Regions from separate parts of the Homo sapiens genome. Here all the other regions are linked to region 1. The links are contacts of gene promoters, found by promoter capture Hi-C in blood cells and fetal thymus (Javierre and others, 2016). All regions are on one chromosome and are shown on one strand. Each heading gives the region's core, a stretch centred on a gene start or on the middle of the fragment in contact. The rest is flanking DNA. Distances are from core to core; before and after follow the strand shown.

Region 1 (3,329 bases), core at 256-2,755:
AGATGGAAAAGTCCAGTTCACAGTTCAGCACCATCACTCCATCACACCTTACAGTCACCAAGAGGTGCTCCAGAAATGGTGCAGTCACAAATTGGTTGCAACAACGGAGGCTTGGCTTTCCCTGTGACCACTTAAAGTGGCTCGATTTGGTTTTCTGAGCCCCGAGCTCAGTTCTTCCTCCCCTAGACCTTGGGAAGTACGAGCCATGGATCTGCAGATTCCAAAAGAAAGTGGGCTGAGCAAGCCCTGTTCGTCTGGCTGTCTGGTAAAAGACACATCCATTGTGCAGCACCCCCACATCCCTGGCATATCACGGTGCTTTTCCTGGAAAAGTCCATATTGGATTTGCGGTCTTGAAAACCCCAAGCTTAAAACACCCTGGGCCTCAGGATTTCCCCCCGTGTCCGTAATGCCACCTCTTCTACTCCAGGCTACCTCCCACAGTCTAAACAAATAAGCAGAAGGAGATTCTCACCCCACTCACACAGGCAGTCCAAAGTCCACTTCTTGCTTGGCTTTTTCTTTCTCAAATACCTTTTCTCATAGCCCTGATACTTCTAAACAGAAAGCAATAGCCTGCCTTGGGAAGAAGATAGACAGAAAGACAGGAACAGAGTCCAGATCCAAAGGTAGCTCTTGTCTGGCCTTCCTGCTGGAGCTACTCTCTGAGGGTTCCCAATTTGCATTTCCCACATACTGTAACCAGCCCTAGCCTTCAGAAATCCCAACTTCTTCCCTCTTGCTTTCTTGGACCTTCTCTTCCAAGAAAATACACACCAGTATGACCGCACTGTGGCCACTGCTGGTTCTCAGCCAAAAGCCTGGAGTTTTCACTTCTACTCTCTCTTCCCACTCTAGCCAATGCTTTCTGTTGACCCATGCTCCTGGTTTGTCAGCCTGCATGTGCACAGATTCCCTCCCAGGGCAGGGATGTAGGGCAAATCTTCTCCCAGAGCTCAGTCCATCCAGCTCAGTCTCTCTAGGCTGGGTCTTTGCCAGAAGATGCCCATGTAAAACCAACCACTCAAGCAAGACTTCTACCAGGGCCTGTCACCCTAAGACTGGTCAGAAAAGTGACTGGAGCCTTTGGCTTAGAGCCCCTCATTTCCTTGGAAACTGGGGTTGGTGGGGCTGAGTCTTGGAAACCCAAGGGCCCAGGAACTTATAATGTTCCTTCCTCTTTGAAAGAGGCAGTTGAAACTGACAGCCAGTCCCTAAGGAAGAGTGACCAAACACAATACCCAGCCCTGCACCTTCTCTCCATCCACGAAGATACGCTGATTCCTGGCAGCTAACATGGGACTCAAACCATCAGGCAGATGAACACTCACCTGTTCCGTAGCTTGCCCCAAAAGCCAGGGAGAGAAACAGCACGAAGGTCAAGGAGAGGAGCCCCTTGGGATCCATCAGCCAATGAGGAGAAGGAAGGGATCCTGGCCGGAGCCTGGCAGCTGCTCACAGATGCCAGGCAGAAGCAAGCTTCGTGTCATGCAGCAGAGGCTGTCTGATTTATGTATCAGGAACCAGCAGGTTCCTGAACCCGCTTCCTGTATCACTGGGACTTTTTCTGCTTGTGTCTTGAGGATTGCTCATCTCCCATGAGGCTTTAAATCACTTTTTTGTTCTCAAGAAGCAGGCTTCTCAAGAAGCCAGGCACTTAGCCTATGGGAGCCAGGAAAGGGGGTGTGTAGTCACCTCGGCCAAAACCCGGCTTTGGGCAGAAACATGCGCCCCAGCTTCTTTCCTTAGCTGTCTCCAGGAACCGGATGTTGCAGATTCTCTGAGCAGTTCTCTCCGGTAAGTCTTCTTGGATTGCAAAGAAAAGATGTTTCATTGGATCACTCCTCAAATTTGGCAGTTCACAGCTGAACTTAGATAACTGCATTTTGATGAGCTAATAGACCTCTTACTTCTGTTTTATTTCATAATTTCAGATGACACCTCAACATGCAGTCTGGTGCAGGTGCCACTGTCACACAGAGATGGGAAGGGCATGTGCGGGTCACTTGGAAGAAACCCTGTGACCCCGATGAGTGCAATGTGGTATAATTTAGTAGCCCATGCTCCTAGTTTGTCTTCTTGCATGTGTGTGGATTCCCTCCCAGGCAGGGATGTAGGACAAATCTATCCCAGAGCTCCATCCTTCCAGCTCAGTCTCCTTGTTGTGTGTGTGTTTTCTCCTCTAATTTTTAACGTCTGTGGGTACATAGTAGATATACATATATGTGTGTGTGTGTGTGTGTGTGTGTGTGTGTGTGTGTGTGTGTGTATGTATATATATATGTATGGGGTATGCATATATTTGTATGGGGTATATGAGATATGTTGATAGAGGCATGCAATATGTAATAATCACACAGGGTAAATGGGATATCCATCACCTCAAATATTTATCCTTTGTGTTACAAACAGTGCAATTATATTTTTATTTTTAAATGTGCAATTAAATTATTATTGACTATAGTCACACTGTTGTATTATCAAATACTAGTTCTTATTCATTCTTTCTATTTTTTTGTACCCATTAACCATCCCCACTTCTTCCCCAACCCCCACTACCCTTCAGCCTCTGGTAACCATCCTTCTACTCTCTATGCCCACAAGTTCAATTGTTTTAATTTTTACCTCTCACAAGCAAGTGAGAACGTGCAAAGTTTGTCTGTCTGTGCCTGGCTTATTTCACGTAACATAATGATCTTCAATTCCATCCATGTCATTGTGAATGACAGGATCTAATTCTTTTTTAGCTGAATAGTACTTCATTGTGTATATGTACCACATTTTCTTTATCCACTCATCGGTGATAGACGCTTAGGTCGCTTCCAACCTTGGCTATTGTGAATAGTGCTGTAATAAACATGGGAGTACAGATATCTCTTCAATATACTGATTTCTTTTCTTTTAGGTGTATACCTACCAGTGAGATTGTGGATCATATGGTAGCTCTATTTTTAGTTTTTTGAGGAACCTTCAAACCATTCTCCACAGTGGTTGTACTAACTTATATTCCCAACAACAGTGTACAAGGGTACTTTTTCTCCACATCCTTGTCAGCATTTGTTATTACCTGTCTTTTGGATAAAAGCCATTTTAATTTAATTGGGGCTGTGTTGTATTCTGGGAGTTGCCTTTATTTTGGAGTTTGTGTCTAACTTTTCATTGAGGAGAAGGAACTAGTATTGGCAGAAGGAGGATCCCGCCCTTTTTCATGAGTTAAACTATAAGAATGGGATACTGGAAGTGTAACCAATGCTCACAGGGAGACTTGAAAGAGTAGGGAAGTGTTTTTAGAGTCCATTGTAACAGGTCATAGGCACTCTCTGATGGGC
Region 2 (3,329 bases), core at 211-2,710, 250 kb before region 1:
GAAGACGGATTGGAAGGGAATGAGACATGTTTGGAAATGATAAAGGTCTGAATAAGCCAAGGGGATAGAGGTGGAAGGAAGATAATGTTGTTCCTTTTAAACCTATTACATTTAAGATACCCAAGGAATATCCAAGTTAAAATGTATGGTAGGAAGTTGAAAATTTGAGTCTTATGCTCACAAGATAGACCTGGATTTAGCAGCACTCATAAGTGAGTACTGACTGAAGCCACAGGAGTGAATGACATTGCTTTGGAAAAGCATGTGGAGTGGGGAGTAAGGGGGCCAAAGGCTGAATTCTGGGAAATAATAGTATTTGAAGTCAGGAGTAGAAAACACATTGGAAGGATGGCTGGGGTGCAAGGAGCTGAGGAGTGAAGGGAGGAAGAGAGATAGTAAAGAATCTATCCATTTTTTTTTTTTTTTTTTTTTTTTGAGATGGAGTTTCACTCTTGTTGCCCAGGCTGGCGTGCAATGGCACGAACTCGGCTCACCGCAACCTCCTCCTCCTGGGTTCAAGCGATTCTCCTGCCTCAGCCTCCCGAGTAGCTGGGATTACAAGCACCTGCCACCATGACCGGCTAATTTTGTATTTTCAGTAGAGACGGGGTTTCTCCATGTTGGTCAGGCTGGTCTCTAATTCTCGACCTCAGGTGATCCACCCGCCTCAGCCTCCCAAAGTGCTGGGATTACAGGTGTGAGCCACCAGGCCTGGCCTAAGAATCTACTCTTTTAAGAAGGTTGGATGAGAAAGAAATAAAAGCGAAGGCTAAAGCAAGAGGAGGCTGCTGAGTGGAGGAAGGTATTTCATTTTATTATGTCTGCTGGGCAAAGATCAGTGAAGAGGCCGAAGTTGGTTACAGGAGAGATTGTGAATAATGGATGGAGGTGGGAAAGGACAGGATATAACGCACACCTGCAGGGCCTAGTCCCAGCCAAGGGAGCTGGAGAGTGTCTATTCTTCCCAAGAAGGAGGAAGGAAATCAGAAAGTTTCATTCAGTGGTTCTCACATTAAAATCACTGAGGTATCTTAAAAAAAATGCCAATAGCTGGGTCACACCTCAGAAGTTTCTGGTTTAATTAGTCTGGGATGGTCCTGGGCATTGATGTGTTTTCAAAGCTTCCCAGGTGATTAAAATCTGCAGTCAAAGTTCACAACCACTGGTTTAATTGCAGGTAACATTTTAGATTAATGATAATGGGATTGGATTTGAGGAAACTCACACTTAATAAAGGTTGGATGAATAGGGAGTGGTCAAGGTTTCATAGATGAGGAAGGGAGAAAGAGAAGGAAGCTAGAAGGGAAGGCAGCTAATGCTAACTTATTGAATTTTATGTGCCAGAGATATAGAAATGAATGAGGCATGGTCCTTCTTCTTAGAGATCAGGATCTCACATGACAGACACTTCACCACAAGCCTATGACATAATACAGTTCTTGACCAGTTAAGTTTTTTTGTGTGTGAGCTACTTTTATTCTTTTTTTTTTTTTTTTTTAACTAAAAGTGAAGGGGGAAACCCCTCACACCCAGAACCCAGGTATTTCCCAATATAGACTGGGTCTGGAAATCCTTTTGTGAGCATTGAGAGTAGCCTTTCTGGGAAGGTGGGTGCTGGGGAAAGATCTGTAACTATTCCGGGAGATCAACTTGTACCCAGGCTCATCAGCAGGGCTGGAAGTAGATGGTGATTGTGGCCCTGCATGTGGGTACATTACTGCAGTCACCTGTACCTGGGAGGTGGCTAAAATTGCTAATTGCTTACATGGAAACACTTTGATGGCCATTCTGCTATAGTGTGAAGCTTCTATGAGTAAGGTACCAAGGATTCCCTTTCTCTGAGCAGCATTGTAAAAAGGCCCTACTTTTCATCAGAGCAGAAAACCTAACTTTTGCTACTGTGGTCTGGGCCTGACCTCCAGGGACAGCTTCATCCACACAGGAAGTAGGTAGGTGCTTCTCTATAGTCTGGACCTTCCCTCAGAGAGAGTCTACTGTCACTTCTTGAGTTCCTTGAATCTTCCCCAGGAGGGTCCAACTCCCAGGGCTCCTGGGAAGCCTCTGATCTGACCCCACCAGCCCCACCTCCACCTAGTGAGCTGGTGAGGTGTTGAAAGGGCTTTAATGGAGGGCCCTGGCTTTTAGCTAGGGGCCTCCTTCCCCGAGGAAGAGTACTGAAAGAAGTGTCCTAGAGAAGTGTTCTCTCCTAAGAGAAGTATCCTAGGCACAGAACAGAGAGGGGAAACTCGACTGGGAATTGACTGTGGCACTATGAGTATATGGAGGGTGTTCCTTCTGTTACCTCATTAGACCCTTTTTATATAAGCAGAAATTGAGGCTTGAAGAAATTAAGAAATTCGACTATGTCCTCAAGGACAGGAGCTGTACAAAATCCAATCTGTTCCATTCTATTGTCCCTCAGGCTCTTGGCCTCCCTCTGTTATTGTAGGTTGGCCCCTTTAGGAAAATCTCAGTTGAATGTCATTTCAGTGCTCTCCTTCCTTCTAAAGAATTAAGCTAGGTCCCTTAGACCATAGGGCACATGGGCCTTCTAGCTGGGTCTCTGTTTGCTTACTCAGTGACTTGGGGACGTGTGAAATCCAGATGGGATTCTATCCTGAGGTGAAGGTAGAAGGTAATACAGAGAATTGCTGAATGGGACAGACCACACCAATAAAATTTTTTGTTGGACTCTGTAATCCAGTGTTTTCATTGCAGAGATGTAATTGAAAGCCCCCAACCTCACCGTCAGAGAAAGGAGGGACTAAGCTTATTCTAGCCTGATGCCTGATACCTGTTAATTGGGAAGCCTTGTCTGTTAACATCCTGACTTAGGTTTCAAGCTTTCAGTGGGGCCAGACTATGGAATTATCTGTAATTCTGGCATCAGAAGCCCTTTTTCCAGTTCTTTGGGCCATTTTGGGGTCTGTGAAACAGGCTAGCAGCATGTGAAGATAATTCACACTAAATCTGCCTGAGAGTCAAGACAGTGCCACGGCAGCCCCGACTCTGTGTCAAATTACACACTAGCTGCCTAGCACTGGGGTGTGCTTTGGGGCAGGGCTGGGGACACCCATGTCCTCCCTACTTCCCTTAACCCTTCCCCAGCTCTCCTGCCACTCCCTCATACACCTGGTCGTGGTCACTGCCAGGAGCCCCAGTGCGGCCCAGTGCCTGCACATGATAGGCACAAGGTGAATGAGTGCCTGGACGCATGCAGGGACTTGGGTACCTGAAATGATGATTCTGCATATTTCATGTAGTCTTGATGCTGAGTCACCTGCTTACCCATACTACTGGAGGAGGGGATGAGGAAAGACAGAGTTTGG
Region 3 (3,329 bases), core at 360-2,859, 220 kb after region 1:
CCTTTACTGCACCACTGGAAAGAAGTTGTTAAAGTTGTCAAAGATGAACCATTCACAAAGAGCCCAACTGATCTTATAGGTATAGTCAACCAATCTTGCAAGAATTCAATAAATAACTTCTGTAACACCAGACACTAAATGAGAACTCATTGCCTTTATTTCTAACCATCTGAATATTGTCTGTGTTCCTGTTTGAATGAAACCATAACGACACTTTTAATAAGCACAATCTCTTTTTCTGTCTCTTTTTCTCAGAAGGGCTAGAAAATCGCTTTCCCTTCTATGTACATTTATCTTCTGTGGGCTTTCACTTGTTGGAAGAGAAGTAGCCAGTTATTGTTTATTTATTGGCTGTGATAACTTTCAGGTTCAGGTTAAAGGTAAGAGATGCAACAGTCTCATAAAGAAGATGGAAGACAGAGCCTCTCAAAACAATTTATGGGACATCAGATAACGCAGAGAACCCACATCCACAGGAGCAAAGGCTAAAGAGTGCAATCCATGTCTTAACTCATCTCAGAATTCAACATAACAAGAAATTTGCCATTCCCAGATTCAGTGTGAGAAACAGCTCTGACGATGCAGAGAACCGCAGGCTATCTCTCTGACACTAGCAATGTGGTGTGGGAAATGGAATCAATCTCTGCTTCCCTGTGTTGGAACAAAATGTTTCTACGTGAAAAAGGTACAAAAAAGTTTTCCCAAATTGCAAGGGAAATGCACCATAGAATAGCCTCCTATTTAGCCTCCTATTTAAAGATAATTAAATATAAATTTGTCTTATACATTTGTATCTTTTATTACATTGTATAAATCAGAATCTGATTTAGTATGAAATTATATTCTGAGATTTTTATGTTTGACATATTAGTAGACCAAGTGTTTTGCAATTAAAAAAAAAAAAACATAATGACTTCTAAGTGCCCTACCATCTAGTTTGTGAATTTTATCTAGTTTGTGAATTACAAATACAGAAAATCAAAATTGGGGTTATAATGATAAAGTCATTTGTGCAAGCCAATGTTCTCTTTTAATTTTTCTGTGCTACGTTGACACCTAGAAAGAAATGAATGTGATCAAAGTTTAGTGGTGTAATCAGATAAACTTATGATATGGTTTGGCTGTGTCCCCACCAAAATCTCAACTTGAATTGTATCTCCCAGAATTCCCACGTGCTGTGGGAGGGACCCAGGGGGAGGTAACTGAATCATAGGGGAGGGTCTTTCCTGTGCTAGTCTCGTGATAGTGAATAAGACTCACGAGATCTGACAGGTTTATCAGGGTTTCCACTTTGCTCCTTCCTCATTTTCTCTTGCTGCCACCATGTAAGAAGTACCTTTCACCTCCCACCATGATTGTGAGGCCTCCCCGGCCATGTGGAACTGTAAGTCCAATTAAACTTCTTTTTCTTCCCAGTCTTGGGTCTGTCTTTATCAGCAGAGTGAAAACAGACCAATACAACTTACAACCAAATTGTTATTTTAGTGGTTTGAATATCCATAATTGACCATGAAATTGTTTTGACATGACAAAACTTTACTGTGGAGTATTTTATTCTACATCACATTGCTATTTTATTCTATTTCACATTGCTGTTTATCCCTCATGTAGAATCCTCATCAGTGCTGAGAGTTTCCCTGATTCTATGTGTCACTGAACCTACCACACAGGTTGCATGGGCCCACACATTCACATATGAGATTATAGAAGATGAAGAACCTAAAACTGGCTTCCTGTTCTCTAAGAGTTCCTCTTCTTCTTCCCCTATCCGTGTGCTAACTGACCTCCCTACATGATTTTCATGTGAAGCTCTCTGGGTTTTTCTGGCATACCCTCTCCTGCTAAGAAGTTGCCTCTGGCCAGGTGCGATGACTCACACCTGTAATCTTAACATTTTGGGCGGCTGAGTTCAAGAATTTAATGGGCAAAAATAAAGAAGTCTGGTAATACCAAGTATTTGAGGGCATATGGATCAATTGGATCAATTATATACAGCTGATGGGAATGTAAATTGGTACAATTCTGTGGAAATAAATTGGTGTTATCTTGTAAAGTAAAATATTTATAAACTCTAATGATCCAGCAATATGACATCTAGTTATATACCTACATATAAGAGACAGTTTAGCACATATATACCTGGAGACACATATGACAATGTGCATAACAGCATTGTTTTTTATTGGAAAAAAAACTGGAGACAAAACAAATGGCAATGGGAGAGTGGAAAAACAAGATGTGATCTATTCATACAATGTAAATTCAATAGCATCAAAAATGAATGTGGGACAGCACAGGAGAACAGTAGTTACATAATGTCATAGGAAAAAATAAGCACCAGAAGACAATATACAATATGATAGTATTTTTATATAGTTTAAAAACAAAAAATTAAACATATTATTTGGGCATCTGCATGATGTGTGTGCATGATTGTTAAAAAGTAGCTTAAGCAATAGGATCTTAACCACAAATTGAGATAATGGCAACAACTAAGGAAGAAGGGAGGGATGGAGTGACATAGAGGAACACAGAGGTAGGTGTAGATTAATAATAATATTCTAGTTGTTGGGTTGTGTCATGATAAGCGTCCATTGCATTGTGAAACAAAGGAAGGTGAGAGAGAGGTGGACGGGGGTAGAAGGAGAGTGAGAGAGGGAGCTGACCTAGCTGCCATGCGTCTCTGGCTGCTTGTTACAACCACAAAGAAAGACCACTAATACCACCTCATCATGAAACCTTTCAGGTAATCATTAGTGTTGTTCACTCTGATACAATTCTCCTCTTTTGGGGCAGGGTGGGGACATGGAAGGCTGCACTTCTCTTTGGAGTTAAACAGGACCATGTGTCTTGCTCTGGCCAAGCAATGTAAGCAGAAAGTGTCACTGTCAGGCTGAAGCCTTTAGGAGAAGCAAGACACCAGTCAACACACTCCTTTCTCCAGCTTCAGTAAATACCTAAAACACGTAGCATTGGCTTGGTAATAGGCCTACTGATGATGAAGAAATTAATATTGAAGGTTGGAAAGATGGCACTCCATGTTATGTAAGAAGTGAAAATGTTAAGAGTGTTGCCTGTGGCCACTCAAGAAGTGTGTTATATACCTAGTGCCCTTGAGCTCTAAGGGAAGACATCAGGGAAACAGAATGCAACGCTGTGTGCCAGCTGCCTTTGGTAACATATTATGAAAGAGAGGCCCAAAGGAAAATCAGATGGTCTGTTTTGCAAGCAGCAATGAAAGAACTAACTGACTCCGTGTCTTCAACAGGTAAATGGTAAAGAAAGCTTTCATTAATAAATGATCTTCAATAAAGACACACACAAATACA
Region 4 (3,329 bases), core at 212-2,711, 210 kb before region 1:
TGATCCATGAGACGTTAATAATGACACAAAAAAAGGGCCAAAATGAGATCTTATCACTAAAGGCCATAGAAATTGAAGGAGCAGTTTCCAATATAAATTATCTTTGGCTAGAAATTTTTTTGCCAACATGACTGTATTAGTCTATTCTCATGCTGCTATGAAGAAATACCCGAAACTGGTTTAATTGACTCAGTTTCTCATGGCTGGGGAGGCCTCAGGAAACTTGCAATTCTGGTGGAAGGGGAAGCAAACACATCCTTCTTCACTTTGTGGCAGGAGAGGGAATGAGAGCCAAAATGCTGCCAGTCTCTTTGCGTTGCAAGAGTGACATTTACTTCAGTTCTTAACAAGTTCCTCATCTCCATTTGAGACCACCTCAGCCTGGACTTCATTGTCCATATCACTATCAGCATTTTGGTCAAAGCCATTCAAAAAGTCTCTAGGAACTTCCAACCTTTCCCACATTTTCCTGTCTTCTGAGCCCTCCAAGTCTCTAGGAAGTTCCAAAGTTTCCTGTCTTCTTCTGAGCCCTCCAAACTGTTTTAACGTGTGCCTGTTACCCAGTTCCAAAGTCACTTCCACATAATTGGATATCCTTATAGCAGTACCCCACTCTCTGTTGTACCAATTTACTGTATTAGTCTGTTTTCATGCTGCTATGAAGATATACTCAAGACTGGATAATTTATAAAGAAAAGAGGTTTAATTGACTCACAGTTCCTCATGACTAGGGAAACCTCAGGAAACTTACAATCATGACAGAAGGCAAAACAGGCATGTCTTACATGGCGGCAGGTGAGAGAAGTGAGTGCCAACTGAAGGGGGCAGCCCCTTATCAAACCATCAGATCTTGTGAGAACTCACTATCATGAGAACAGCATGAGGGTAACCACCCCCACGATTCAATTATCTCCGTCTGGTCTCTCCCATGACACATGAGGATTACGGGAACAAAAATTTAAGATGAGATTTGGGTGGGGACTCAGCCAAACCATATCAATGACCAATAGAACAGAGGAAATTCATGAGTTTTACCATATTTAGATAGTTTCAGATAAGGTGACTTAATGTACTTCAATATTTGCATTAATTGCTATGGGTATAGAATGAAAGTGTGATCCTTGAATATCTGAGACATGTCTCAGTTAATTTAGAAACTTTATTTTTCCAAGGTTGAGGACACATGCCCATGACACAGCCTCAGGTCATGATGACCTGTGCCCAAGGTGGTCAGAATACAGTTTGATTTTATACATTTTAGGGAGAGATGAGACATTAGTCAATGTATGTAAGATGAACATTGGTTTGGTCTGGAAAAGGCAGGACAACTTGAAGCAACGGTGGGGCAACTCGAAGTGAGGAGGGGGGCTTCCAGGTCATAGGTAGATAAGAGACAAATGGTTGCATTCTGTTGAATTTTTGATTAGCCTCTCCGAAGGAGGCACTCAGATATGCATTTATCTCAGTGAGAAGAGGGGTGACTTTGAATAGAATGGGAGGCAGGTTTGCCTTAAGCAGTTCCTCGCTTGACTTTTCCATTTAGGTTAGTGATTTTGGGGCCCCAAGATTTATTTTCCTTTCACAAAAGTAACACCATATTTCAATAATTGTAGGTAGCATCATATATCAATAATTTAGAAATATGTTCTCAAGTTTCTTTGCCCAAGTGGTGGTCACTGTACAAACTTCAAGATCTTAACGACCTTGTAGTTAAATGTTGCTGGAAACTGTCTTATCTGTGTTTACTGTTTTTCACTCATTCTGTCATTTAACCAATATTTGTTGAGCACCTTCTATGTGCCAGGAGCTATGCTAGGTATTGGTGGCATGGCACTGAATAACATGGACATAGTCTTTGTTCTCAGATAGTAATCACTTAATTTCAAAGGTGATGAATGTAGTGATGAAGTATAGGGGACTATGGGATCTTACAGTAGGAAACTGACCAAGGTTGTCAGGAAAGGTTTCCTTGAAATAAAGGATGGGGCACAACATCTTTTTGACTGGGAAGAGCTTCCTCATTCTCTTCAATAACCAAACTCTATCCAAGAAATTGCTGTCTAAAAATTGAGTGTCAAAGTAATTGGACCTTGGAAGTTGTCAAAAGATTTCTTGAGAAGGCTAGCAAGGATGTATAGCAAGGGGAATGCTTGTACACTGTTGGTGGGAATGTCAATTAGTACAGCCACTATGGAGAACAGTATGGAGGTTCCTCAAATAACTAAAAACAGAACTACTATATGATCCAACAATCCCACTGCTGGGTGTACGCCCAAAGAAAGGAAATCAGTATTTCGAAGAGATGTCTGCACTCCCATGTTTATGGCAGTACTATTTACCATAACCAAGATATGGAAGCAACCTAAATGTCCATCAATGGAGGAATGCATAAAGGAAATGTGGTACATATATACAATGGAATTCTGTTATTTGCAACGATATGGATGGAACTGGAGGACATTATATTAAGTAAAATAAGCCAGGCACAAAAAGACAAACATCACATGTACTCATTCACATATGGGAGCTAAAAAAAATTGAAGTTATGGAGAGAGAGACTAGAATGATGTTTACCAGAAGCTGGGGAGAATAGTAGGTACAGGGGGATAAACAGGGAGTGGTTAATGGATATAACAGTACAGTTAAATAGAATGAATAAGTTGTAGTATTTGGTAGCACAATAAGGTGACTGTAGTTAACAACAATTTATTGTATATTTAAAAATAACTAAAATAGGGGAATTGGAATGTTCTTAACACAAATAAATGATAAATAAATGCTTGAGATGATGGATACCCCAATTACCCTGATTTGATCATTACATACTATATGTCTGTATCAAAACATCATATGTGCTCTGTAAATATATACAACTATTACGTAGCCATATAATTAAAAATAAAAATGAATTTCTGAACAACTAAGGGACTGCTATTTTACTAAGACTCTGATGGCAACTGAAATAAAAGTTACAAATGAATCTTTTGTTTTAAGAATAAAATCAAAGACAGGGAGAAGAATTGGAACATCTAATGTACGCTGTGTATATGTACACATAATTGCTCGACACTAAAGAGAAGAGGACCTTTGTGGAGCCCCTCATGTTTATACCACAGAACCCATACCTGGTACTTGCTATTTCTCAGCTGCCATGGTTCTTTCTGAGGGCAGCGTCTTGCCAAAGCTTACCAACCGTTTCTGAAATAGTATTTACTATTTGAGGAGAGCTCTGAGTTAAGCATTTTCAGTTCAGATGTTGTTTTCCCCTTGAATTTTCAGCAAACCATGTGGAACCTCTGCTTCCTCAGATTCCTGGTATGGTGCCATAT
Region 5 (3,329 bases), core at 246-2,745, 200 kb after region 1:
GAGCTGTATGGTTTTTTTTTCCTATAATGCCCATGCTGCTGGTACATTAAGTCCCTGTTTATGTAATAAAAAGTTGTGGAACGGTAACTCAGGTAACTCTTAGGATGAGCATAAGCAACAGCCCAAGAACTCATCTAGGTATCCCTGGGGTCATCCTGATGCTCCTGCTCCAGGCTACTGCTGCACAGTGTAGTTACCTCTTGAACTATGTGGCTTGGAGAAAGTTATCACTCAAGAGGAGAGGACAGTTCTCCATCAGCCTCTCCCAGGAAGAAAATAATGTTCAGGAGCCATTTCAGGACTGTCACTCACCAAACAACTATGCCCTCCCTCTGCAGAAGAAAAGCTTGCATCTCCCAGAAGGAAATAGGGATAACATTTTTTTCCAGAGTAGGATAGGCCTAGCTTTACAGGAACTGTGTGCCTGGAGGCCAGGGCTACCCTGGGAAGGGCTACAAGGCACTGGGAGAGGAGGCCAAGGGATTTTATCTCATACCACATCTGTCTTGCACATGAGCCTGGTTGCGGGGTCCAAACCTTCAGCGCTTGTTATAGCCCAGTGTGTTCCACTTACCCTGATGGGCATTCTGACAGTCCTGAGTGAGATTCAGGGTGTGGCTTTCCCAGCTAACAGGATTGCTGACATTGCAGGTATATGTGTGAGTGCCATTAATGTCAACCTCCTCGTCCAGGTAGGTGAGGTTCCCTGCTGTCTGGATCAGCTTGCTCCCTCTGTACCAAGCATAGGACACATTGCCATCCCTGGAGACCAAGCAAGACAGAGCCACTTGGCATCTCCCTCTGTCCAGGATCTTCCCCTGCCCCTGTAGGCGGGGTTTCTCAACTTTATCTGGAAGCAGAGATTCTGATCAGAAAGGCATTGGAAATACAGAACTTAGAGGCCTATAGGAATCAGAGAGGGCAGTATGAACAGTCCTGGAGACTTACCAAATACAAAAACCTGGAACGTGGCTGTCTGAACTTTTCCAGATATACTGGTGACCTCCAGGCAGTAGAGGCCACTGTCCTGCTGCTGAGCTGCCTTGATGAGAAGACTCAAGTTCTTGACTATAAAACTGAATCTATCATTGGAAGTATTGGAAGGCAAAGAGCCATTCTCCCACTTCAATATGTGATGAAATCCATTTTGTGAGGGCAGCAACTTCTTCCATGCAATGCTGTCAACCTTCGTCTGTATGCTGTTTGGTTGTAACTGAAGAGGCACTCCCGAGATGCTAACCACATGGTCAGCTGATCCCTGGCATCCTAGGAAAGAGAACCCAAGCTGAAAGTAGCGGGAAGAGTGTCAGGCCTGAGCAATGTGGGCAGCTGGATGTGACTTCCCTTAAGCCAATTGGGTGGGGATGAGTATGAGGAGCCCAGAACCTAGGAGCACCTTAAAGCATATCCCCTCCATCTGCCTCCCCTTGTCCCCAAGCTCTGTGTCCCTAGTCTGAGGGATCCCATAGACCAATAGCTAAAATCTTGAGTACTTACTATGTGACAGGCAGGTTTCACACTTTATACATTTTAACTATTTAAGTTAAAAGGTATGATGAGTTAAAAGAATGATGAGCCTGAAACCTAGTCAGTTTGGTGTTATGTTTTTGTTTTCTTTTGTTTTGTTTTCTAGAGACAGGGTCTCACTCTGTCACCCAGGCTGGAGTGCAGTGGCGCAATCACAGCTCACTGCAGCCTTGAACTCCTGGGCTTGAGGTGATCCTCCCATCTCAACCTCCCTAGTAGCTGGGAGCACAGGTGCTAGGGAGCTTATTTGTTTACTCTTTGTAAAGACAGCAGTTTGGCTTGAGAGGATAAATTCTTAACCATGATGCTATAAATACCACATCTAAGGTGACTCCCTCCAAGCAGTGCTGAGGCAACTACTAATGGCAAGTAGTGACTGTTGGAAATTCTGAATGGTCAGGCCCAGGAAGACTAACCGTCCAAGCTGAACTCATGGCCCCTCAACCATCCTCTCACAGAGCTGAATACATAATCCTCTCTCGTGGCACTTGGTTCATTGGATTTTGGTCATTACTTATTGATGTTTGCCAGTTTTTCAGTGATCAGAAAGTCTCCACAAAAATTTCTCCCTAGAAAACAATTTTAAAAATAAAACTACACTTCCCAGGCAGATCCCAGCACTTGCCTCTCAAAGAATCAAGATGAAACCTAATGAATATGGGGGTGTGACAACCTAGAGCAATTCTGTGCAGTCAGTGTACAAAACTGGAAGTTCCTACAGCCATTTTTAGTAATAAAGCTATGTGGCATGGCCCAGCAGGTGCAGGAAATTAAAAAGTCTCTCTGGGTGAGTTGGGGAGGCTCAGGGAGGATTTGGAAGAGAAAATAAGAGATGGGGAGAGTTTTACAAGTGGCTCCGTTAAAATGGAGGCTATTAAGAAGAGAGCAATTGAGACAGAGGGGTTTTTATATGTCCAGTGCATTATGAATGCAGTCTCTCCAAGCCACAGCTTCACCCTGGCATTTTCTCAAGAGACTAAGTAAATAATTAAAGGACTTGTAATACTATTTGTTTGATGAAATATGTTTCTTTGATCTTGATGCTCCTAAGACTAAAACACATAGGTTCCCATTTATATTTATATGACTTGTACTGGCTCTGCCCATTAGCAAACCAAAAGCTTCTCAAAAGCAGAGACTGTGCTGTGCATCTCTGTGTCTCTGTCTCCTACGATCCTAGCACTATTTATAAGAACAAGTCAACCTACCAAATATTGCACAAAGACCCTGAGAACAAAGGTGAATGGAAAAAATCATTACTAAACCTACAAGGAGGACATATACTGTCTTCATCAATTATTCAGTCCTTACTGAGTCCCACTGCAATCCAGCCCCTGAAGAGGCAGGGCCTCTTCATGTATAAGGCATGATTCCTGACTCCAGAGAGTTTGTGATCTGGAAACAGAACACTTTCATTCTACAGCATCCCCTTAATTGTTGAGATAAAAAATCATCGAAGGAATTCTAATTATGTAATGAAAATCCAGGTTAAGACATGCTAACCAATCCTCCCACTAAAAATAGCTAGAAGAAAAATGAACAACATGTAAAAGCACATTGTTAAAGTTATCAGAGAGTTTATAAAGCAGTGAAAAATTATGGGGCCAATATCTGGAAGAAGGAAATTCAGAGAGGTGAGATCAGCATTTCTGACTGTTGTTCCCTGGAGGCATCTTCTGATTCCATAAATGGCAGCTAAAAGGCTGAGAAGCTGAGCAGAGCTCACAATAAAACTCAAGGAACTAAGAGAACATGAAGTTCACGTCCCTCCTATTAGAAAGCGGGTATACATAAAATCCATC
Region 6 (3,329 bases), core at 609-3,108, 160 kb before region 1:
TTTTTCAAGGTTTTTAACTTCTTTGCCATTGGTTCGAACTTCCTCCTTTAGCTTGGAGGAGTTTGATTTTCTGAAGCCTTCTTCTCTCCACTCATCAAAGTCATTCTCCATCCAGCTTTGTTCCATTGCTGGTGAGGAGCTGTGTTCCTTTGGATGAGGAGAGGCACTCTGATTTTTAGAGTTTCCAGTTTTTCTGCTCTGTTTTTTCCCCATCTTTGTGGTTTTATCTACCTTTGGTCTTTGATGATGGTGATGTACAGATGGGTTTTTGGTGTGGATGTCCTTTCTGTTTGTTAGTTTTCCTTCTAACAGTCAGGACCCTCAGCTGCAGGTCTGTTGGAGTTTGCTGGAGGTCCACTCCAGACCCTGTTTTCCTGGGTATCAGCAGTGGTGGCTGCAGAACAGCAGATATTGGTGAACCGCAATTGCTGCTGCTTGATTGTTCCTCTGAAAGTTTTGTGTTAGAGGAGTACCCAGCCGTGTGAGGTGTCAGTCTGCCCCTACTGGGGGAGTGCCTCCCAGTTAGGCTACTCAGGGGTCAGGGACCCACTTGAGGAGGCAGTCTGCCTGTTTTCAGATCACACGCTGCATGCTGGGAGAACCACTATTCTCTTCAAAGCTGTCAGACAGGGACATTTAAGTCTGCAGAGGTTACTGCTGCCTTTTGTTTGTCTGTGCCATGCCCCCAGAGGTGGAGCCTACAGAGGCAGGCAGGCCTTTTTGAGCTGTGGTGGGCTCCACCCAGTTCGAGCTTCCTGGCTGCTTTGTTTACTTACTCAAGCCTCGGCAATGGTGGGCACACCTCCCCCAGCCTTACTGCCACCTTGCAGTTTGATCTCAGACTGCTGTGATAGCAATGAGTGAGGCTCTGTGGGCGTAGGACCGTCCAAACCATGTGTGGGATATAATCTCCTGGTGTGCGGTTTGTTAAGCCCGTTGGAAAAGTGCAGTATTAGGGTGGGAGTGACCCGATTTTCCAGGTGCCGTCTGTCACCCCTTTCTTTGACTAGGAAAGGGAATTCCCTGACCCCTTGTACTTCCTGGGTGAGGCCATGCCTCGCCCTGCTTTGGCTCATGCACGGTGCGCTGCACCCACTGTCCTGCACCCACTGTCCAGCACTACCCAGTGAGATGAACCCGGTACCTCAGTTGGAAATGCAGAAATCACCTGTCTTCTGCATTGCTCACGCTGTGAGCTGTAGACTGGAGCTGTTCCTATTCGGCCATCTTGGCTGCCCCTCTATTTCCTCCTGTGTCTTAAATTGCCATGAATTCACCTTGTGTTTTAAGTTGCCATGAATTCACCTTGTGTTTTGGATTGTTGTTGGATCCTGAGAGGGATGTTCTACTTTCCTTGGGTCATTAGAAGTCAAAGGGAGAATGAAAAACAGAATTTAAGGTGATTACGAGACATCCAGGAAAATATCCAGTCAGCAGAACCTAGGGAAACAAATCTAATTATGGGACATAAATAATAAGAGAAACCAAGCTAAGGAGAGGTAAGGAGGAGACAGAAAGACAAAAGTAGGATGAGGTGACTTAATGGGCATTAAAAGGAGGGAAACCTCAAGGGTGATGGGGGGATTGTGTAATGTCAAATGCTGCAGAGAGCACCAGAATGCAGAGAAAAGATCCCTGCCTCTAGAGGTTGGTATCCTTCAAGAATGCAGCTTCAGAAGAGTGGGCTAGGGGTGAGGAAGCAAAAGCTTTGGATGTGGCCATTCTAGTCGTCTGGTAGTAAAAGGTCAGTGATGATGTCCCCTTCCTTTCTTCCCACAGAGAGTGCTTTTAGATGGCCTCTGGGAAGGGGAAATTCAGGGGGTCAGACTTGCTCCCTCCCCATTTGAGAAGTCACTTCTTAGTCCATTCTTTTCATCAACTTGAAACTCAGGGTGAAATGTCTATCCAGTGACCTTGGACAGGGTAGCCTTCTCTCTGTTCTGCATCTAGCTGTGGCCCTGCTTCCTCATATCAAAGTATACACTGAACCCTGAGGGAGGCTAAATGATGAAAGCTTCAAGTAAGTGTCCTAAAGCTACACGGGGTTCAGGTGTTGGCTTGAGGGTGGGATGGGGTGTGGACAAGTGAGATCAGACATTGTTATTTTGGGACTAGTTAATGTGCTCTTTTGACCAACATGATGTGGGGCAAAGCTTCATGGTGTAGGTAAGAGGTTGGAAACTTAACTATTTTCAGTACTAGGTAGGTATCTTAAGTGAGTGAAGCAGGCAGGGCAGGCCAGGAGTGAAATGTGAAGTGCAAGCCCCATTTAGAATAGAACAGAGGCTACTCAGCACCAGCTAATTGTTGCCTCATAGGGATGTGGTCCCAGTATCCATAAGGCACAGAAGTAGGAAGGAGAGTCTAGATTATTCTAGGAGCTGAATAAAGAACAGTGTGGCTGGAATGCTGTGAAAGAAGGAGTAGAGATGTGAGTAGGGGTCTTGTAGGCCTTGTCAACACTTTGTGACCTCCTAGTGGGAATGACTGGGGGCTGGCAGAGTGGGAAGAGTATTTCTATTCCCTTTTATTACCTTTCCAGGATAGCCAATCACAGCCATCTTACCTTATTCAAAGTAGTTTAATGGGGCTACCATTTCCTTAATTCTACAATAAAAATATTAAAGAACAAGCTTACCTCCTGGGCAAAGAAAGTTTGTTTTTTGGTAGGAATTTTATAAGCATTGCATGTTTTCTTCCCTGCTTGCAAAATGCATGATTCATCTTTTAGGAATGGGGCATCTGGGTCTTAATGTATTTAACTTTAGAACAATAGATTAGGTTTTTGTTGATTAAATCCATTTGTTTCCCACAAGAAAACAAAAATGATTAGTTATATGGTGAGTACTGGGTAGTTTTCAGTTTTGTAAAGGAGATCTGTTCAAGAGTGTCCCATAACAATGATACCATTTACTGATATGAAAAAGCATAGTAGAAGAAAAGGCTTGATAAGAGAAATCAAGAGGTTTGATTTTTTTTTTTTGACAGAGTCTCACTCTGTTGCCCAGGCTGGAGTGCAGTGGCATGATCTTGGCTCACTGCAACCTCCGCCTCCTGGTTTCAAGTGATTCTCCTGCCTCAGCCTCCTGAGTACCTGGGATTACAGGCACCCAACATCACACCCGGCTAATTTTTGTATTTTTAGTAGAGACCGGGTTTCACCATGTTGGCCAGACTGGTCTCGAACTCCTGACTTCAAGTGAGCCACCTGCCTCGGCCTCCCAAAGTGCTGGGATTACAGGCATGAGCCACCACATCTGCCCAAGAGTTTTTATTTTTTAAAAAACTTTGATATATCTACCAGATATGCAAATGGTGATGCCAAGTAG
Region 7 (3,329 bases), core at 406-2,905, 140 kb before region 1:
CCTTAGGAACCATGGCATATTTATTAGGTCTGTTTTATGTACCAGTTTCTAGACTGGAAACTGGGAATATAAGATACTGTCAGTCCTCTGGGTCCATCATCTGATAGAGGAGCCTGACAGGTAAATGAGTAGTTAGTTCTGATGTGGTGGGTTGGGCATTGAGCTAGTGTAAGGCTTGCCTCTGCATTGCCCTCGTATCACTATTGCAGTTATACATGCAATTGCAAGCAGTTCTTTCTCTTTGTTATAATTACAAGATTATTTTCTTTTCTTTTCCATAATCTTGAGGTCAGGGATTCTGATTATTATTTCTATATTCCTAGAACTTAGCACACAATTTCTAGCTCAATAAATGTTGAATTGTTAGAGATATGTGCTCCATGGGAGCAAAAATTTAGAGAATCATGAACTGGGAAGAGTTGGGAGTTGTCAGGGAACAGTTCACAGGAGATGACACTGTAGCAAAGTCTTGAATAAAAGCTATGAGTTCTCCATTACTTAATTATTTGTAATTCTTCCAATAATGCCTTGCTTTTTTTTTTTTTTTGCACTGCTTTTCCCTCTGCTTAAAATGCCTTTCTTCATCTTTCCTACATGGTAAGCTCCTATTTATCCTTCAAGGATGAGCTAAAATATCTGTTTGCCTCTTATATTTATGGGGGTTTTGCATTGGTACATGGGGAAGGGGAGAAAGGAGTTTGTGGTGAAGCAAAGGGAGAAGGAGCACAGGATGGATGAGATGGTAGGAATAGTTCCCCACAGACCCAAAACCAAACCAAAGCAAAACTAGATTTGAGACAATATGCTTAGGGACAGTGAAGGTCAGATGCTACTGAAAATGTTTAAAAGACCCTGCATGAGACTTTGGACAGGAGCAGAGCTGCTTCAGGGCCAAGGTGTTGTGGTGTGGCCCAGAGGGCACATGGAGGTCCTTTTCTCTGCTCTGCCAGGAATCAACACTGATGCTTTGGGAGCATCCGGGACCAGCACCCTTGGCATGGACATTGATGTTCTTGGAATAAGCAGGGCATCTAAATGGCTCTGCTGGCATCCTGTGTGGGGGACTAGAACCAGAAAAGGAGATTAAGAATGGGAAAGATGCCTCATGTTGGCTACAACTCGTAGGCTGCTTTGGGGACTCATGGGAAGCTTTCCTTTGAGACTCTCATAAGTCACTGGGGAACTCCTTGCAACATGAAGGTGATGCTGAGGTCTTGCCCATCCACTGGTGAGGATGTCAAGACAGCAGACATTTGGGGTACATTTGTTTACAAGTTTCATCTACTGTATGATGTGTTTTGGGGAACTCAAATAATATCTTAGTCAGCATTGTATTTCCCCATAACCTGGTCCAGGGAACTCAGTGAATGTTAAGTAGATTGGAATTAGAATAGAGAAGTTTTTAAGGGTTACCTGATTAGTGGAGGGTTAGTTTGGAAGGTATTAAAAAACATGAAGTATTTTTGAAAATTGGCAAAGTATAAAGAGAGCAGTGTCTTAGGAAAGAGAGGAGAGAGGTAGAACTAAGCAGATTCTGAAAAAGAGAGAAAAGTCAAGGAACTTTGGGTTTCTAACCTGAGGGACTAGCTTAGGCCCATCTATAGCTAACAGGAATATAGCAAGCTGTGTTAGCTCCACAGGAGGCAAATGCAGTATGAAAGAGAGTAGGGGCTGATTTCTCAAGAGAATTTAAAGAGAAGGGAGGAGAAACATAGTCAGGATATTGAGAAGGTAGGACAAATGGAAGTTACTCTTTAGGTAACAGAGTCCTGAGCAAATTTGGAGCAAAGGGAAGCAGCTGGGAGAAAAAGAAAAAACTTAAGATATGGTGAAAGGGAGTATTCAAAACGGTGTCATTTCTGAGGAGGAAGCCAGGGTGGGCTTAGGAGCATAAGTGAAGAGGTTAGTCTTGGGTAGACGTGGTTCTCCTTTTCTTTTGAGACTGAAAAGAATAAGGTTAAAGATCTCAAAAGATTTAGAGGGTAAAGGGGAAGAAGTTGGAATATTTCGCTTATGTTTTTCTCAAAGTTGTTCTAAGAGAAGTAGATCTCATAGAATCTAGAGGAAGACGGATGAGACATGTAAAAGCTGCTATGAGGAATTTGTTAGGAAACTGACAAGTCATCAATAAATGAGTGTGGAAGCAGTGAGGAGGAATTGGCCAAGCTTGGTTGACACGCACCATTCATGGAGTCCATCCAGTTTTGCATTGGCTGGTGCGAAAGTGATTGCGGATTTTGCCATTACCTTCAATGGGAAAATCCGCAATCACTTTTGCACCACACTAATAACTTTCTCCAATGATTATAGCACTTGTAGCCCAGGAACAGGGAAAGAAGGTGCTGGGGATCACCTAATATTAGCAATAGGCATAGTATAGGTAGGTGTGGCATCAAAGGGGAGAGGGATTTCAGGGGAATGGTGACTACTTTGTTGAAATTGCTGGCCTAAAGTCTGAGGGTCAGTGACATTAGTCAAAATGGCACAATAAATAACTGCAAGGGTCCATCCCTCCACAAAAAACATGCACACTCATGCGAACACACACAGAGTGAGCAAACATTGTCAGAATCAACTTTGTCAGAACTGTAGAAACTAGTCAAAGGTTTATAGCAACCAAACAAATGATGGGTCAAAAAAAGAGGCAACTTAAAAATGCTAGGAGTTCTAGTCTGGCCAACATGGTGAAACCCTGTCTCTACTGAAAATACAAAAATATCAGCCAGGCAGAGTGGAACATGCCTGTAGTCCCAGCTGGGGAGGATTGTTTAAACCTGGGAGGCAGAGGTTGCAGTGAGCTGAGATCATGCCATTGCACTCCAGCCTGGGTGACAGAGTGAGACTCTATCTCAAAAAAAAAAAAAAAAAGCAAAAGAAAAAAAGGAGTTAAAAAAAGCCAAATACATAGAAACAAAGTATAAAGCAGTGGTTATCAGAGGTGGAGAGAGGGAACAGAGAGGAAATGGGGAGATGTAGGTCACAGGGTACAAAGTTGCAGATATGTAGGGTAAATAAGTCTAGGAATCTAATATACAACATGAAGGCTATACTTATATTATTGTATTGTATACCGAACATTTGCTCAGAGTAGATTTTAGATACTCTTACCATACTTGCACAAAAAGGGTAACAGTGCAAGATAATGAATATGTTAATTTGCATGACTAGGGTAACCATTTCACTGCATATATCAAAATGTCATGTTGTACAGCTTAGATATACACAATTAAAAAAAAATCATTGGGGAGCTTTGCAGAATGTTTGATTGCCCTTTCCCCGATCTTTTTTCTCCAACTTGATAGCAGTCTTGAAGACAGCCGTCTACATTT

The links. Contacts are between HindIII fragments. The CHiCAGO score rates a contact against its expected background, and 5 or more counts as called.
Region 2: a fragment that was not itself captured here is called in contact with the fragment with the promoter of SLAMF1 in region 1 in 12 of 17 cell types (fetal thymus, activated CD4 T cells, total B cells and 9 more); the score reaches 11.5 in fetal thymus.
Region 3: a contact is called between a fragment that was not itself captured here and the fragment with the promoter of SLAMF1 in region 1, in 2 of 17 cell types (total CD4 T cells and naive CD8 T cells). The highest score is 5.6, in total CD4 T cells.
Region 4: a fragment that was not itself captured here is called in contact with the fragment with the promoter of SLAMF1 in region 1 in 15 of 17 cell types (non-activated CD4 T cells, activated CD4 T cells, total CD4 T cells and 12 more); the score reaches 20.6 in non-activated CD4 T cells.
Region 5: a contact is called between a fragment that was not itself captured here and the fragment with the promoter of SLAMF1 in region 1, in 4 of 17 cell types (fetal thymus, non-activated CD4 T cells, total CD8 T cells and 1 more). The highest score is 9.2, in fetal thymus.
Region 6: a contact is called between a fragment that was not itself captured here and the fragment with the promoter of SLAMF1 in region 1, in 2 of 17 cell types (non-activated CD4 T cells and total CD8 T cells). The highest score is 6.6, in non-activated CD4 T cells.
Region 7: a fragment that was not itself captured here is called in contact with the fragment with the promoter of SLAMF1 in region 1 in 7 of 17 cell types (non-activated CD4 T cells, activated CD4 T cells, naive CD8 T cells and 4 more); the score reaches 11.5 in non-activated CD4 T cells.

The regions. Positions count from the first base shown.
Region 1 is chr1:160,645,539-160,648,867 of GRCh38, forward strand. SLAMF1 (signaling lymphocytic activation molecule family member 1) reads right to left here and starts at 1,506. Exons shown (of 7, transcript NM_003037.5): 1 at 1,332-1,506. The coding sequence starts at 1,407. LOC107985220 (a long non-coding RNA gene) reads left to right here and starts at 1,471. Exons shown (of 2, transcript XR_001738266.2): 1 at 1,471-1,797; 2 at 1,935-3,329. RefSeq lists enhancers at 1,338-1,547, 1,588-1,637. The HindIII fragment of the contact is 11,196 bases long and covers 1,478-3,329 here.
Region 2 is chr1:160,395,822-160,399,150 of GRCh38, forward strand. All of the region lies in intron 3 of LOC105371466 (a long non-coding RNA gene), which reads right to left. Among named protein-coding and RNA genes, the nearest start is that of VANGL2, 3.1 kb to the right of the region's middle. The HindIII fragment of the contact is 683 bases long and covers 1,120-1,802 here.
Region 3 is chr1:160,866,544-160,869,872 of GRCh38, forward strand. No RefSeq gene overlaps it. Among named protein-coding and RNA genes, the nearest start is that of CD244, 5.3 kb to the left of the region's middle. The HindIII fragment of the contact is 3,347 bases long and covers 1-3,283 here.
Region 4 is chr1:160,433,833-160,437,161 of GRCh38, forward strand. LOC105371467 (a long non-coding RNA gene) reads right to left here. Exons shown (of 3, transcript XR_922202.3): 2 at 3,126-3,329. Among named protein-coding and RNA genes, the nearest start is that of VANGL2, 35 kb to the left of the region's middle. The HindIII fragment of the contact is 3,442 bases long and covers 1-3,182 here.
Region 5 is chr1:160,840,636-160,843,964 of GRCh38, forward strand. It overlaps CD244 (CD244 molecule), which reads right to left. Exons shown (of 9, transcript NM_016382.4): 2 at 949-1,266; 3 at 575-850. Among named protein-coding and RNA genes, the nearest start is that of CD244, 21 kb to the right of the region's middle. The HindIII fragment of the contact is 2,302 bases long and covers 345-2,646 here.
Region 6 is chr1:160,480,211-160,483,539 of GRCh38, forward strand. No RefSeq gene overlaps it. Among named protein-coding and RNA genes, the nearest start is that of SLAMF6, 41 kb to the right of the region's middle. The HindIII fragment of the contact is 308 bases long and covers 1,705-2,012 here.
Region 7 is chr1:160,501,167-160,504,495 of GRCh38, forward strand. The region is part of intron 1 of SLAMF6 (SLAM family member 6); the gene reads right to left. Among named protein-coding and RNA genes, the nearest start is that of SLAMF6, 20 kb to the right of the region's middle. The HindIII fragment of the contact is 1,017 bases long and covers 1,148-2,164 here.